Linked DNA regions of Homo sapiens: regions 2 and 3 are each linked to region 1. Evidence: promoter capture Hi-C in human tissues and cell types (Jung and others, 2019). All regions are on one chromosome and are shown on one strand. The core of a region is centred on a gene start or on the middle of the fragment in contact, and the rest is flanking DNA. Distances in the headings are between cores, read along the strand shown.

Region 1 (4,697 bases), core at 2,198-4,697:
TTATGTCAATGTTGTTTGCTTCAGGGATGTTCTGCTATTGAGGCTGCCAAAGGCTCTGAGTACTATTGATGGTATTGAATAGTGTTTGGCCTCTCTCAGACTTCCGTCAATCCTATCCCTCTACAGAGCACCTGTGTATGTGGTGGTTTACAGATTTTAGGCTTAAGTCTTCCTCTTTGAGATGGCCTGTGTCTATCCCACTGTATTATTCAGGGCTACATAGAGAAACAGAACCAATAAAATAGATAGATAGATGATAGATGATAGATGATAGATAGATAGATAGATAGATAGATAGATAGATAGATAGACAGACTATATATAATATATATTTATCTCACTGTATATATGTGTGTGTATATATATGCATGTGTGTGTGTGTGTGTGTGTGTGTGTGTGTGTGTGTGTATGAAGAGAGAGAGAGAGTGAGTGATTTATCACGAAGGATTGGCTCACACAATTATGGAGGCTAAGAAATCTCATGATGTGTCACCTGCAACCTGGAAACTCAAGGAAACCAGTGATATAATTCCAGTCCAAATGTGAAGATCTGAGAACCAGGGGAGCCAATGGTATAAATCCAGTCCAAGGGCAGGAGAAACCCAATGTCTCTGCTCAAGTAGGCTTGCAGGAAACATAAACGGGCACATTTCTCCTTCCCCGACCATTTGTTTTATTTAGGCCCTCAATGGACTGAACGATTCCCATCCACATTGGAGAGGGCCATCTACTGAGCACACTGATTTAAATGCTTATCTCCCTTGAACACTCTCACAGACACACTCAGAAATAATGCTTAATCTGGGCAGCCCTTGGCTCAATCATGTTGATACATAGAATTACCATGGCACCCACCCTCAGAACTAACTGGTAAATTATCAGTAGCATTAGGTTTGCCATAGATTCAGAGATACTTGCCAATTTACTTCAACTAGACAGCGTTTAAGTTTCTTAATTTTCTCCCTTAGTAGATGATGCTGCCTGCATCTTCCAAAATACAAAACAGCTAATCTCTCTTTTGTTGGATGACTAGCTTTCCTAATCTCTCATGGATTTCTGGGTTTATTTACAAATCCCCACTACCTCCCCCATACCAAGTCTCTGAGCTAGCTGAGTTGCTAAATATGCTATATACATGGTAATTTTTTAAGCCTTACACTTTCAATTTATTAACTTATTAAGGCTCACAGTAGCCCTATTATTATCCTTCACTTTTGAAGTTGAAGAAACTGAGGTGGTTAAATAACTTGCACACAGTCACACAGTTGGAACTTAAACAGCCATCACTAAGCAAAGCTAAGATTCCAGCTCAAGGAAATCCATATTCAGAGTTCATGCTCTCAACCACTACCTTATTTTGCCCTGAAAAAATGTGAGATCCAAGGCCAGGCATGGTGGCTCACGCCTGTAATCCCAGCACTTTGGGAGGCCGAGGCAGGCGGATCACGAGGTCAGGAGATTGAGACCATCCTGGCTAATGTGGTGAAACCCGTTTCTACTACAAATACAAAAAATTAGCCGGGCATGGTGGCAGGCACCTGTAGTCCCAGCTACTCGGGAGTCTGAGGCAGGAGAATGGCGTGAACCCAGGAAGCAGAGCTTGCAGTGAGCCGAGATTGCGCCACTGCACTCCAGCCTGGGTGACATAGCGAGACTCCATCTCAAAAAAAAAAAAAAAAATTGAAAGATCAATTTAAGAACACACCAAAAGTTTCAGAATAGCTAAGCTACCTAAATAAAATTAATCAATTTCAAACATCTGACTCTATGGTCTTATGATGTTCATATGAGTATATTTTCCATCTTCTGTTGACTACCACCATGAGTTATTCTTTTCTGGTTCACACTATAAAAATTATAACAAGAGGATATGTTCTCTTTTCTTCTAAATATTTATACTATTTTCATTAGGTAACAAACGAAGAAACAAAAAGCCTGTAACATAACACCTGCAAAAGGATTGAATAAAAATAATAGTGTGACAAGTCCAAATTTTGCTTCCAAAGAAAGCAAATTTATTTAATACAAAGAATATTTTCCAAACTCAAAAAATACTTAAGAAATAATGAAAACAGGAAAAAAACAAACAACCAAAAAAACAACGGGAACGAAATGAAGTGAAGATTCTAAACTTCAATTCATTCTATTTAAAGGCTTCTGGTTGCTACGTGGTTATAAAGCCCATGGAGGTGAAATTCAAAATTACCTTGCTCTATTCGAACAATAGACTTAATCTTCTAGTTAATTTGAGAATGTTGTGATTCAATGGCTAAAATAACAGATGGCCAGTGAGTAGGCCTGGATTTTAGTTGTGGTTCTGATGTTATTAACTACTTGGGCAACCTCTGATAGAGTTGAACCTATCGTAATTCACAGGACTAGGTAGGCTTTTAGGTTTGGTTCCAATATTTTATGAATTTCTGAGACTAGTAGCACATTACTTAATAAACCAGATCCAATGCTAAGTATTTCCAAAGAAAACAACTTGCAGTTAAAGTGTGATGTTTCCTTTAAGTATTCATGTTATTTCCTGGCTACAGCTCTTATTGCTTAATAACAAATCGTATCCTACTGCTCTAAAATAGCTAGCATGCTTTCCAACCCCAGATTACCACTAGACATACCCAAAAGAAAAACAAGAAAAAAAATCTTGTCTTTGGAGACAGTAGTAAAATAAGACATGTTCATTTACTAACAAACACACACAACATTTTTTATTTAAAGAAATACAAAATATCTAAGTATCTCAAAAATAAATTCATCCAAATGAGAATATAAGCCATCTCCCCTACAGATCTTCACTTACTAGGCAATTGAGAACCACCAGTAACACAGCAAGTTGGTTCAACTCCTGGAGAAGATTCCAGGAGTTGTGGCTCAGGTGCAACATTGACCAGAGGTCTACAGGAACTGGATTCAGGGTTCTGAGACTGACACTGACATTGGCTAGATGCACGTTCCAGAGTTTCGAAATTTTTAGACTTAGAAGTCTTGGGTGGGCAACTGTTTCCCTTGAGGCTTGCAGGTTGGCAGCTCTGGGCTACAAAACCCATCTGCTGAGTGCTTTCTGATTGGCAAGGCTGAGAAACACAAGCCAGCCCTGCTGAAGAACTTTCTGATTGGCACGCTGTCCTTTCGCAGGGCCTGGAATTGGAGTAAGTAGTTTGGACAACTCCGGGGAAGCAGTTACTTTGCACACAGCTATCGTCTGTGAATAAGTCCTGTTCACAATTGGTCATTTGGCAGCTGGTGGTTTCATTGCAGGTTTCTTGAAAGTTGTCCAGGAAACAGGTTCTGCTATGGAAGCTGCTGGGCAAACACAATCTGTCTTCAAAGGTTATAGGATTAGTGCCATGTGTGATGGCAGAGAGTGGTGGGGCATTGTGGAAGCTCCTGAGTGAATGGCAGTGGCTATGAGGCATATTGCTAAAAATCCTTAAAGATGGTCATAAGGACTCAACATGCTGAGTTTGAAAATTAAATTCTTTGGTGCGGCGATTATATACTCAGAAACCTGGGTGTTGGCTTCTCAAGACTTCTTTGCAACTCATTGCTTAAACTAATTTGAAGGATAACATCTCATTACCACTTTGGTTATATATGCAGATGATGTCTTATTAACAAAGATGTAAGTCCATTTTGAATCTTCAAAATGGCTTTTATGTTAGCTCCAAAGATGACTCATTCAAGGTGGGGTTGGTCAAATAAGAGTCTAAACCTGTCCAACCAAGCTAACATTTTTTTTTTTTTTTGCCACCATGACTCTGCACATTGGTAAGTGGACAATGAGAAATGCATGAGGCAGTGGCCAACTGAATACTGATTAACATTTAGCACTGGTTTTGAGAGCTGCCAATGTAGCAGAATGTGGTAATTTGATGTTCAAGACATTTAAAGTTAGAATTGGATCCAGGTTGAGCCCAATCTCATTCCACTCAGATATTGTTCTCTCCAGTGGACCAGAATGTGAGAGGACTTTGTGATCACATTCCTTCTCAGTGTTCATGCAAAGTACTGAGTGTGGCCATTGCCCAATAAATACTTGTCTTTTGCCTAACATTTCGTTTCCCTAATCTCCTTGAAAGCCAAGTTTAAATGCGTCCTTTTCCTGAAGTCTTCCCCAATCTTCCCATTTAGGAGTTATTTCTTCCTTTTCTGAATTACTAATGGATTTAATTCCTTTTTTCTATACTTGACAAAGTGGTGTGTTTACTTGTGTTTGTGCTTCTCAAAGGTTGATTATTTTCCTTTATAATGAACCTTCTTCAGATATTTTTCATCTTTATTCTGTGCTTTTTTTATTGACTGCAGACAGATGATCAGTTCCTATGTTTATCGCATTAGGACACCGTTCTTAGCATAGTTTCATACTCATGGCACAGAGCCAACCAGCACAATTTCTATAACATATTCTATAATATATTTGGCTCAGCTAATGACAATAAAATAGAAGTATAGTCTTAGTGCACTAACTAGACTCCCTTTCTAAGGTCTGAAGAAGCCCAAGAACATTCAGCAATTCTCAGTAATTCTTATGCAAACACTTCCTTGAAAGACTGAGGATATTATAAATTTAAAAGGGCACATCTGAATACTTTCAGCTTTATAGGCTGCACACTCATCTTGTATACAATACCTTTGTAACACACGCAAGTCATTTATAATTTTGAATAACCACACTTGTATGTTTAAAGATC
Region 2 (4,697 bases), core at 1,534-4,033, 690 kb after region 1:
AATAATATTGGAATGAACATTAACCAAAATTATAGACACTATGCATATGAAAAAGATAACAGTACTAATAAATATGAAAACAGATGAGCAGATCATTGAAAAATATAATTTACAAAATGGCCTAGAGAACAACTAAAAAACAATAAATATGCTTATTAACTTTTTTTGAAATGAGTAAGTAAAAAACAACTTTCTAAAAAGAAAATATTAGTTCCACGTAGTTTGATTAGCCACCTCTGGGAATAAGTTAATTCCTGAAAAGGTAAGTTAATTCCTGAAAAGGTAAGTTTCTAAGAATAAAAGGAGAGACGCTCCCCAGTTCATTTTATAAAGCTAGTATCACTTTGTATGAAAAACTGGCAAGGGCATTATAAGAATGAAAAATTACAGACCAGTCTTCCAAATAGCAATGTAAAAATCATATATGTGTTTACATGCATGTGTGTGTTTTTATATATGCCAAAATTATATATATTTATATATGGTTCATTCAGAAATAAAAAGTAAAATGGCAAGCCATTAGTAGAAAAAGATATTTATATAGAGAGTAAATATATTTATTTATATCTTTATATATGACAAAAACATACATTGATAATTTAACATTTTTAATGTAATGTCTATTAACCAGTAAGAAAAAATAAAGACTATCCAATTAAAGTGGGAGGGAAGACAGGAAAATAGACCTGATCTAGACTTCACAAATGAGAATATTAATGATTTATCATAGCATGGAATGAAAATGATGAAGTGTGCTGAGAATATGCAAATACAATTCAAGTGCACACAATTAAAATCCCATATCATGATTAATCATAGCAAATGTGTGTGTATTCCTAGCAATAAATTGAGCAAAATATGCATAAGACTATGATAGACATATTAATTATTAAAAGACTTCAAATACAAGATATACCATGTTTGTGGATTAGAAGCAGCAATATAAAACAAGTCAGTTCTCTGCAAATTCATGATAAAGGCATTTACAGTCTACGTTGCAATGAATTTGTGTGTATGTGTGTATATTTAACTTGTCAAAAGAAATTTCCAACATATATATGGAAAAACATAGAGCCAGGACAACCAACACATTTTAAGACAACAAGTTAGTGAAGCTTGCTTTACCAGATATCAAGAATTCTTACAAAATGTTTACATTCATGACACTGTAGAATTATCACAGGGAAAAGCAACAGATCAATGAAACAGACTTGAAACTTGATTTATGTCAGAGCTGGCATTGCACACCAGTGGGAAAAGAATAGACTTTAAATAAACATTACTTAGACATTGTTATTGGTTTGGAAAAAATTAAATCAAAGCCCTTTTTAACCTCTTGCACAGAAACAGATTCCAGATAGATTAAAGACATAAATATGAAAGGCAAAACTATACAACTTTTAGTCAAAATATAGGACAACATATTTGTGATATTAGGAGAACGAAAAAAGTCTTTTTTTTTTTTTTTGGTAGATATGGGGTCTCAATATGTTGCTGAAGCTGGTCTCACTCCTGACCTCAAGCAATCCTCCCACATTGGCCTTCCAAAGTTCTGGGATTACAGGCAGGAGCCACCACACTGGGCCAGGAAAATTGTCTTAAGATGCAAAAGATGCAAGTCATTTTTTAAAAGAGATAAATTAGCTAAATTAAAATTAAGGATTTTTGGTCCTAAAAGATATGAAATATAAAAAGACAACCCACAAACTGGGAAAAAAAATGTTTGCCCTAGATGTTACTGGCAAAGGAATAGTAACTGAGCAAAGAACTTCTGCAAATCATTTTAAAAAGCAAATGACTGGTAGGAAACTGAAACAAAAAATGTAAACAGTTCTTCAGAGAAGAGAAAATCCAAGGACCAAAAAAATACAAGTAAGATTCTTAGTTTTGTTAATCGCCAAGAAAACAAAAATTCAAACCACAATTAGGTACTATATTATGACTTCCAGACTGACAAAAGTTAAAGAGCCTAACAAAATCTAATGTTGGCAAGGATATGGAATTATCCTTCTGGTGAGATTATAAATTGAGACAAGCATCTTTGAAGACTGTATCAACCAGCAAGTGTTTCTTCTAGAAGACAGGTGCATATTCATAGCAGTCCCTTTCATAATAAAAATAGCAAAAATCCAAATGTTCATCAAGGATAGCAGAGGTAACAAACTATGTGAGAGTCATGCAATGAAAACACTGCCTTCTAGAAGTGACAATTAATAATTTACAGGTAAATGTAAAAACATGGAGTATCTCAGAGACATAATGTTGAACTAAAAAAGGAAATATCATAACACATACACTATAATTTATCTATATAAAGTTCAAAAATATACAACATTAAATAATATGTTACTTAGGGATATACCGTCTGGGAAAACTAAAGTTACAAAAAGAGAGAGATAGGCTGGGTGCGGTGGCTCACACCTATAATCCCAGCACTTTGGGAGGCCGGGGCGGGCAGATCACAAGGTCAGGAGATCAAGACCATCCTGGCTAACATGGTGAAACCCTGTCTCTACTAAAAATACAAAAAATTAGCCAGACGCGGTGGCGGGCACCTGTAGTCCCAGCTACTCGAGAGGCTGAGGCAGGAGAATGGCGTGAACCCAGAAGGCGGAGCATGCAGTGACCCAAGATTGCACCACTGCACTCCAGCCTGGGCAACAGAGCTAGACTCAGTCTCAAAAAAAAAAAAAAAAAAGAGAGCGAGAGCGAGAGATAAACACAAGTTAATTCAGCCAGGGTGGTTTCCTCTGAGTAGAGAGGAAAGGGAATGGGACAAGGACTTCAATGGTAACAATAATTTTTTTTTTTTTGGTAGTGATAGTGGTGGTAACCAGGTGAGATACTCCAGATATTCACTGTATCATTAGTCTTTATATTTTATGCATATTTTACAAGTATTTTGGGGGTTTCCTCAACATTGAATTTAAAATTTTTTAATGAATTGTCTTCAAGGATTGTCTTTCAAGAAGTAGTGGCATATGGCCGGGCGCGGTGGCTCACGCCTGTAATCCCAGCACTTTGGGAGGCTGAGGTGGGTGGATCACGAGGTCAGGAGATCAAGACCATCCTGGCTAACACGGTGAAACTCTGTCTCTACTAAAAAAAAAAAAAAAAATACAAAACATTAGCCTGGCATGGTGGTGGGCGCCTGTAGTCCCAGTTACTCAGGAGGCTGAGGCAGGAGAATGGTGTGAACCCGGGAGGTGGAGCTTGCAGTGAGCCAAGATTGTGCCACTGCACTCCAGCCTGGGCGACAGAGCGAGACTCTATCTCAAAAAAAAAAAAAAAGTGGTGGCATAGATGGACAAAGAGTTGAAACCTTACCTAAACTGGATACTCTGGCTGAAATATGACAGCAGGGACAAAAAGGATCAGCTGCAGAGCTTTAGTCTCAGAGGAAGTGGCATAGCAGATCGAAAACCAAAGGAGAGGCTCAGATGTAATAAAACAATCTGGGGATCCAGTTACTAGAATGAGGTCATAGGAAAGGGCTAGATCACACAGAACAAAGCCAGAACCCAACCAGGGCTAACACTCCAAGTGAACCAGCACTAAGGCTGAATCATTTGAATTATTGTCCTGAGTTCCTTTGTCCCAAGGAAAAGCATGGATCCCATTGCTGTTGTACAGGGTTGAATATTAAAGGAGGAGCTTCAGAGAATCAAGCCTTAAACGAGAAGTCTGCAAAGGTGAGAAGCTAAGCAGGTCTTTATATCATTGTCAAGAAAAAAAGGAGTTTCTTCCTATTTTACAGGTAGAGGTCCCAAAATAAGTTAAAGTGACTTATCTGAAGTCATTTCATCATCAGTTTGGAAATAGAAATAGAATCCATCAGTCTTAGTTCTTTTTGTTGATGCCATCCCTGGTCTACACTCCTTCATTCATAAATTACTTAGCAGCTACACACACTCTATGCAGGAGGCAGGCCATGATTCACAGGCTTAGGTGTTTCAGACAAGGTTTTATTTCTTTATTTTCAGTTCCCATTTTTTTTTTGGCTCTAAAAATAGCAGCTGTGCTGAACAGTACTCAATGGAAGAAAGAAAGGAACTCATTTACAGAGCAGAGGACAAAAATAGTTTACCCAGCATTTATACTATGCTCTTTGGAGCTCAGGGTCAAAGATTTCAGCAGGAGTTTTCTTTAGTAACCTAAATTTACTTACTTTCTTTTACTACATCAAAATGGTTTTAAGTGTCTATTCACATAACAATGAATGTGAGGGTCTATCCAATGCCAACAAGTTGGATCACTACTGAGGTGGAAATAGCGTGGCTTAAACAAATCGACAGCATATAATTGAGGTCACAAAAAGATGTTTTGCTGGCAAAACCCAAGAGGCTGTGGTAATAAAGTATGCCTGAAAATGAGAGTAGAAAAGTATTTCCCTACGTAAGTGTTACAACTGCATCAGATGTTAAATTCACCTTCAGAATTATCTTGCTCAAAAGAGTAGACCTCTGCTTCCTAATGGAAAGAAGAAATTTTAAAATAAAACACATTTAAACAAGCCATATCTATCTACCACCAATTTTCTTTCTTTTTTTTTTTTTTTTTTTTTTTTTTTTTTTTTTTGAGACAGAGTCTTGCTCTGTTGCCCAGACTGGAGTGCAGTGGTACGATCTAGACTCACTGTAAGCTCCGCCTCCCAGGTTCACACCATTCTCCTGCCTCAGCCTCACGAGTAGCTGGGA
Region 3 (4,697 bases), core at 1,006-3,505, 540 kb after region 1:
GAGGTTGAGGCTACAGTGAGCCATAATCGCACCACTGCACTCCAGCCTGGGTTACAGAATAAGACTCTGTCCTAAAAATAAAAATAAAAAGAGTAATCACCTGTCTTTCTTACAGGAACCAGCAACTATCATTAACATAATTATTACATATTCTTATCGTATCATCTGTTTTAATAATAGGGCACAGAACAACTTACACAAAGCAATCATATTTGCTTATAATAGCTTTTTACTTGTGCTAATAGGTACTGGTTCCCAATCATAATTGTTTCATACAAATCATGTCTAATTAATATAATAGATTATATTATAACAATTTGAGTTTTGAAAATTTCTTTGAATATTAGCCAGGCACAGTGGCTCATGCTTGTAATCCCAGCACTTTGGGAGGCTAAGGTGGGCAGATCACCTGAGGTCAGTTCGAGACCAGCCTGGCCAACATGGTGAAAACCTGTCTCTACTAAAAATATACTCACAAGAAAAATTAGCTGGGTGTGGTGGCGGGTGCCTGTAATCTCAGCTACTTGGGAGGCTGAGGGGGGAGAATTGCTTGAACCCAGGTGGCGGAGGTTGCAGTGAGCCAAGATCACGCCACTGCACTCCAGCCTGGGCAACAGAGTGAGACTCCATCTCAAAAAAAAAAAAAAAAAGAAAATGTCTTTGAGTATTACTCTAGGCATCTCTCTGAACATGCCCATCAGGCAGTTAAACATAGGAAAGCACAGTTTACAAAAGAGATTGCAGCGAGAGATCCTAATAAGTAAAGCTTTCAGACTTATAAAGGCAAACACAAAGTCTTTCAAATAGGAAGCCATTTACAAACTCGTAAGCACAGGTAGGAGTTTTCAGAAAATCTAAAAAGACCAAGCCTAGGTCTTTAACAAGGTTAAAGTCGAAGATCAGAGCCCACCTTTATCTATCTACATGGATAGCTTTAAAGGGACTGTTCCGGCCTGTGTCCCAATGTGTCGAGTATTCATTCCTGCTATTTGACCAAATCTCAATACCTTCCTTTGAGTCTTACAAGCTTTAGATCTCTCAGATTTAAAGTCAGATATTCCAAAGGTAGGTTATACTTTCAGCTTTCAACATAGTTTCATTATAAGCAAGCAACATATAAGTAAAAGGATAGAATATCCATCCATCCTTCACTGATAACTTGCATGATGTAGCATCTTGGTAAGCCTTTATATGCATTGGAGGAGAAAAGTAAGGCATTTGGAAGTAAAATGTGAAGCCCTAAGGGGAGCAAAGCATATAGGAGAAGATATTGAAGAATCAGTGAGTTTGTCCTTCACAACCCAACTATGAGCTTCAGGAGAGCAGGAATAGTAATGGCTTTGTTTTCCACTGCATAACCAGCACCTCGCATAGAAAGTTGAAACATTAGAGGTATTCTTTATTTATTTATTTATTTATTTTATTTTATTTATTTATTTTTTTTTTTGAGACAGACTCTCGCTCTGTCGCCAGGCTGGAGTGCAGTGGCGCAATCTCGGCTCACTACAACCTCCGCCTCCAGGTTCAAGCAATTCTCCCGCCTCAACCTCTCGAGTAGCTGGGACTACAGGCAAGCACCACCACGCCTGGCTAATTTTTTTGTATTTTTAGTAGAGACGGGGTTTCACTATGTTGGCCAGGATGGTCTCGATCTCCTGATTTCGTGATCCACCTGCCTTGGCCTCCCAAAGTGCTGGGATAACAGGAACATTAGAGGTATTCTAATGTTTGTTGACAGAAAGTCAGAAGGGAGAGAGGGAGGAAAGGAGATGAAGAGGGAAAAGAGCAAAAGGAGATGGTGAGGGAAGGTGGCAGGAAGGGAAGAAGGGAGGGAGGAAATGAAGGGAGAAAAAGAGGGAGAAATTTGATTTTGAGCTGGGACATTGAGATAATGTCCCGAAGACAATGGCCAAGAGATTTCAGTCTGGAATGGAGAAAAGTTCTGGAAATAGTGACATGATATTGTGAATTTACTTAATGCCACTGAATTGTACACTTGAAAATACTTAAAATGACAACTTTTATGCTACATATATATTTTACCATGATAAAAAAAATTTTAATTAGATTTAAGTTGTTATCATCACTAGAGTATAAATGTTCTCTGTGTCCTCAAACTTTCTATAAAGTGTTAGAAACACAAATGCCTTGTGTAAGTGGATCTTAGTGAAAATCATGGAAAGGAAGTGTAAATATCTGAATCACGGTAGTCTAAACAGAAGCCAACCATAACATAGGAAGAAAATTCATGAAATGAACTAATTCTTCTCAAGTAGAAGCTCAGAGCCCAAGAAGGTAAGAAAAAAGTTAGACATCTTTCCCCAACCTGTCTACTCTCAGATTCCTCGGAGATGTTGGGAGCAGCCAAGACTTCCACCAAACAGCAAAAGGAGATAAGAGAGCTATTTTTGTTTCAATGTTAAATGACAGGATGGCTCAGCTGATACTTGGGTTACATGTGTATTATCTCAATTTACTCCTGAAAACAAAGGTGTAAGATGCTACCATTATCTCCGGTTCACACACAAATGAGCTAACTAAGGCTCAGAAACGTCGACAAACCTGCATCCAAGTGGCAGAACCAGGAAAAGTTACGCTCCTTCCCTGGAGCTATGAGATATTGGATACAAATTGCATTTCTAGGCTGTAAATGAAGAGAAAGAAATCATCACTGCCCTGTCTTTTAAAGGACTGTTCTCAAAAACAAACTTTGAAACTTTACAATTTATTATGTAATAAGGCAAAGAATGGAGAGAACTTCCAAAGTTCAAGTACAAATAGAATAGCTCTAATAGCAAAGAAGATGATTCCCAAAACAGAAATGAAGGCAAGAAAATAGCTTTGCAAGACAGCTACCACAGCCTTAAATGTTCACATTGTCACAATAAATAGCCCAGGCAAAAGCTTGCTCATATCTAACCATAAAGGCTATGTTCTTATATATTATTAATATAGAAATGTTATCTATTAGAGCCAAGTAACCATCTAAATAAAAAGATAAAGAAGGTACCTCTGTCTTTATATTTTTTATTGAAATCTAGAAAGCTGAAAGTTAAAAAAAATTAATCTGTCATCTTCTTAAAAAGTGGGAATTTTCCAAATTATATGTGAAGTGACTAAAATAAACAACAAATGAGAATCATGTAATAACAGTTTTGAAAGGGCAATGTAGAGTTCCCCTAGTGATTTCTATTTTAAAATAAATCAGAGCATTTCCAAAAGCCAGAGTGCTTATTTTAAAAAGAGAGGGCATGAAACTAATATAGACTAAAAACCATGTCTTGCTTTGTTGAGATATTACCATGAGCCATGCATACTAACATAATCCAATTAGGGGAATCCTAAGAGTAGAGCCATCAATGGGAAAAATTAAAAATATTGCATCTATATGGAAATAATCTATATATTTCACCTCTGAAAAACCATCAGAGAAATAAGAAATCCATTTTGCACTGACAACACAGAGTGAGATCAAATTCTCCACAAGACACCAGCATTTCTGTTATGAAAAAAGACACCCATTGTTGATGGCATGTGTACCTCATATGTCTCCATTTTGTGTAAAAATCATCTGCTTTTGTATCTCCTTGAGCAACTCTGAAAAGAAAATCAAGATGTTTTTCTGGACAGAACAAATGAGAAGGGCAAAAGCAAACCAGTTGGTAGCCAGTCTTCACTTCCTTAAAAAAAAAAAAAATGGCAAAAGGACTTAGCATGTCAACCTCCACCTATCCAGATGGTTTGATTTATTTAGTACACGAGTTCCAGGGAAGAACGAGCAAGAAGTATGACTAAGTATTAATATAAGCCAACAGGTTTTTAAGCTTCTTTTTAAGTCTCTCCTGCCCAGATTTACTAAAACACAGAGCTTTAATTTTCTCAGGGCTCTGACTCGAACAGTCAATTGGTATCCCTCGTTGGCAGATTCTACTAATCCACTACCATGAGTGAGGTGGGTATAAAGCTAGAGCCACTCTTTTGATGTGATTAATTTCAGGGCCTGAAAAGTGCCTTCTCTTTCTTTCTCCTTCTCCTTCCATCCCGATTGATCATGGAGGAATCTTTTCCAAAGGTTTCTACTGTGATCCTCTAACTAAATAAGACTCAGCACTTCTCAGTGATCCCACTGCTCCCTTCCCTGCACATCTTTCTGAAATACCTGGTTTTCTGGGTAACTTTTCTTTTTCCTAAATGTAAGTTATTCCATGTGCCCCTAGAAATGGAAGGAGACGTAGAAGACAAGTTACTCCTAGAAATCTCATAGCCCTGGCCTGTAATCCCAGCACTTTAGGAGGCCGAGGCGGCAGATCACCTGAGCTCAGGAGTTCAAAACCAGCCTGGCCAACGTGGTGAAACCTGTCTCTACTAAAACTACAAAAATTAGCCGGGCGTAGTGGTGAACGTCTGTAATCCCAGCTACTCTGGAGGCTGAGGCAGGAGAATCACTTGAACCCAGTAGGCAGAGTTTACAGTGAGCCAAGATCGTGCCACTGCACTCCAGCCTGGGCGACAGAGTGAGACTCCATCTCAAAAAAAAGAAAAAAAAGAAAAAGAAAAAGAAAGAAAGAAAAGAAAAGAAAAATCATAGCCCTTACTTCACCGCACAGCTGAAGACTCTCTCTGAACAAGTAAAATATAAGATAATCCTTGGTTTGGTCACAGGGCATAATGATTAAGCCCATATTCTAGGCTCAGGA

Evidence for each region. The method cuts DNA at HindIII sites, captures the fragments that hold promoters and counts their contacts. A contact is called where the count stands out against the background at its distance.
Region 2: a contact is called between a fragment that was not itself captured here and the fragment with the promoter of KRTAP27-1 in region 1, in 1 of the 25 tissues and cell types used here (dorsolateral prefrontal cortex).
Region 3: a fragment that was not itself captured here is called in contact with the fragment with the promoter of KRTAP27-1 in region 1 in 2 of the 25 tissues and cell types used here (aorta and dorsolateral prefrontal cortex).

What each region holds. Positions count from the first base shown.
Region 1 is chr21:30,334,247-30,338,943 of GRCh38, forward strand. It overlaps KRTAP27-1 (keratin associated protein 27-1), which reads right to left and starts at 3,448. Exons shown (of 1, transcript NM_001077711.1): 1 at 2,767-3,448. The coding sequence starts at 3,422. The coding sequence ends at 2,799. The HindIII fragment of the contact is 14,979 bases long and covers 1-4,697 here.
Region 2 is chr21:31,026,587-31,031,283 of GRCh38, forward strand. It overlaps LOC105372774 (a long non-coding RNA gene), which reads left to right and starts at 3,509. Exons shown (of 3, transcript XR_937657.2): 1 at 3,509-3,692. The HindIII fragment of the contact is 5,506 bases long and covers 31-4,697 here.
Region 3 is chr21:30,875,597-30,880,293 of GRCh38, forward strand. No RefSeq gene overlaps it. Among named protein-coding and RNA genes, the nearest start is that of KRTAP11-1, 3.6 kb to the right of the region's middle. The HindIII fragment of the contact is 4,508 bases long and covers 2-4,509 here.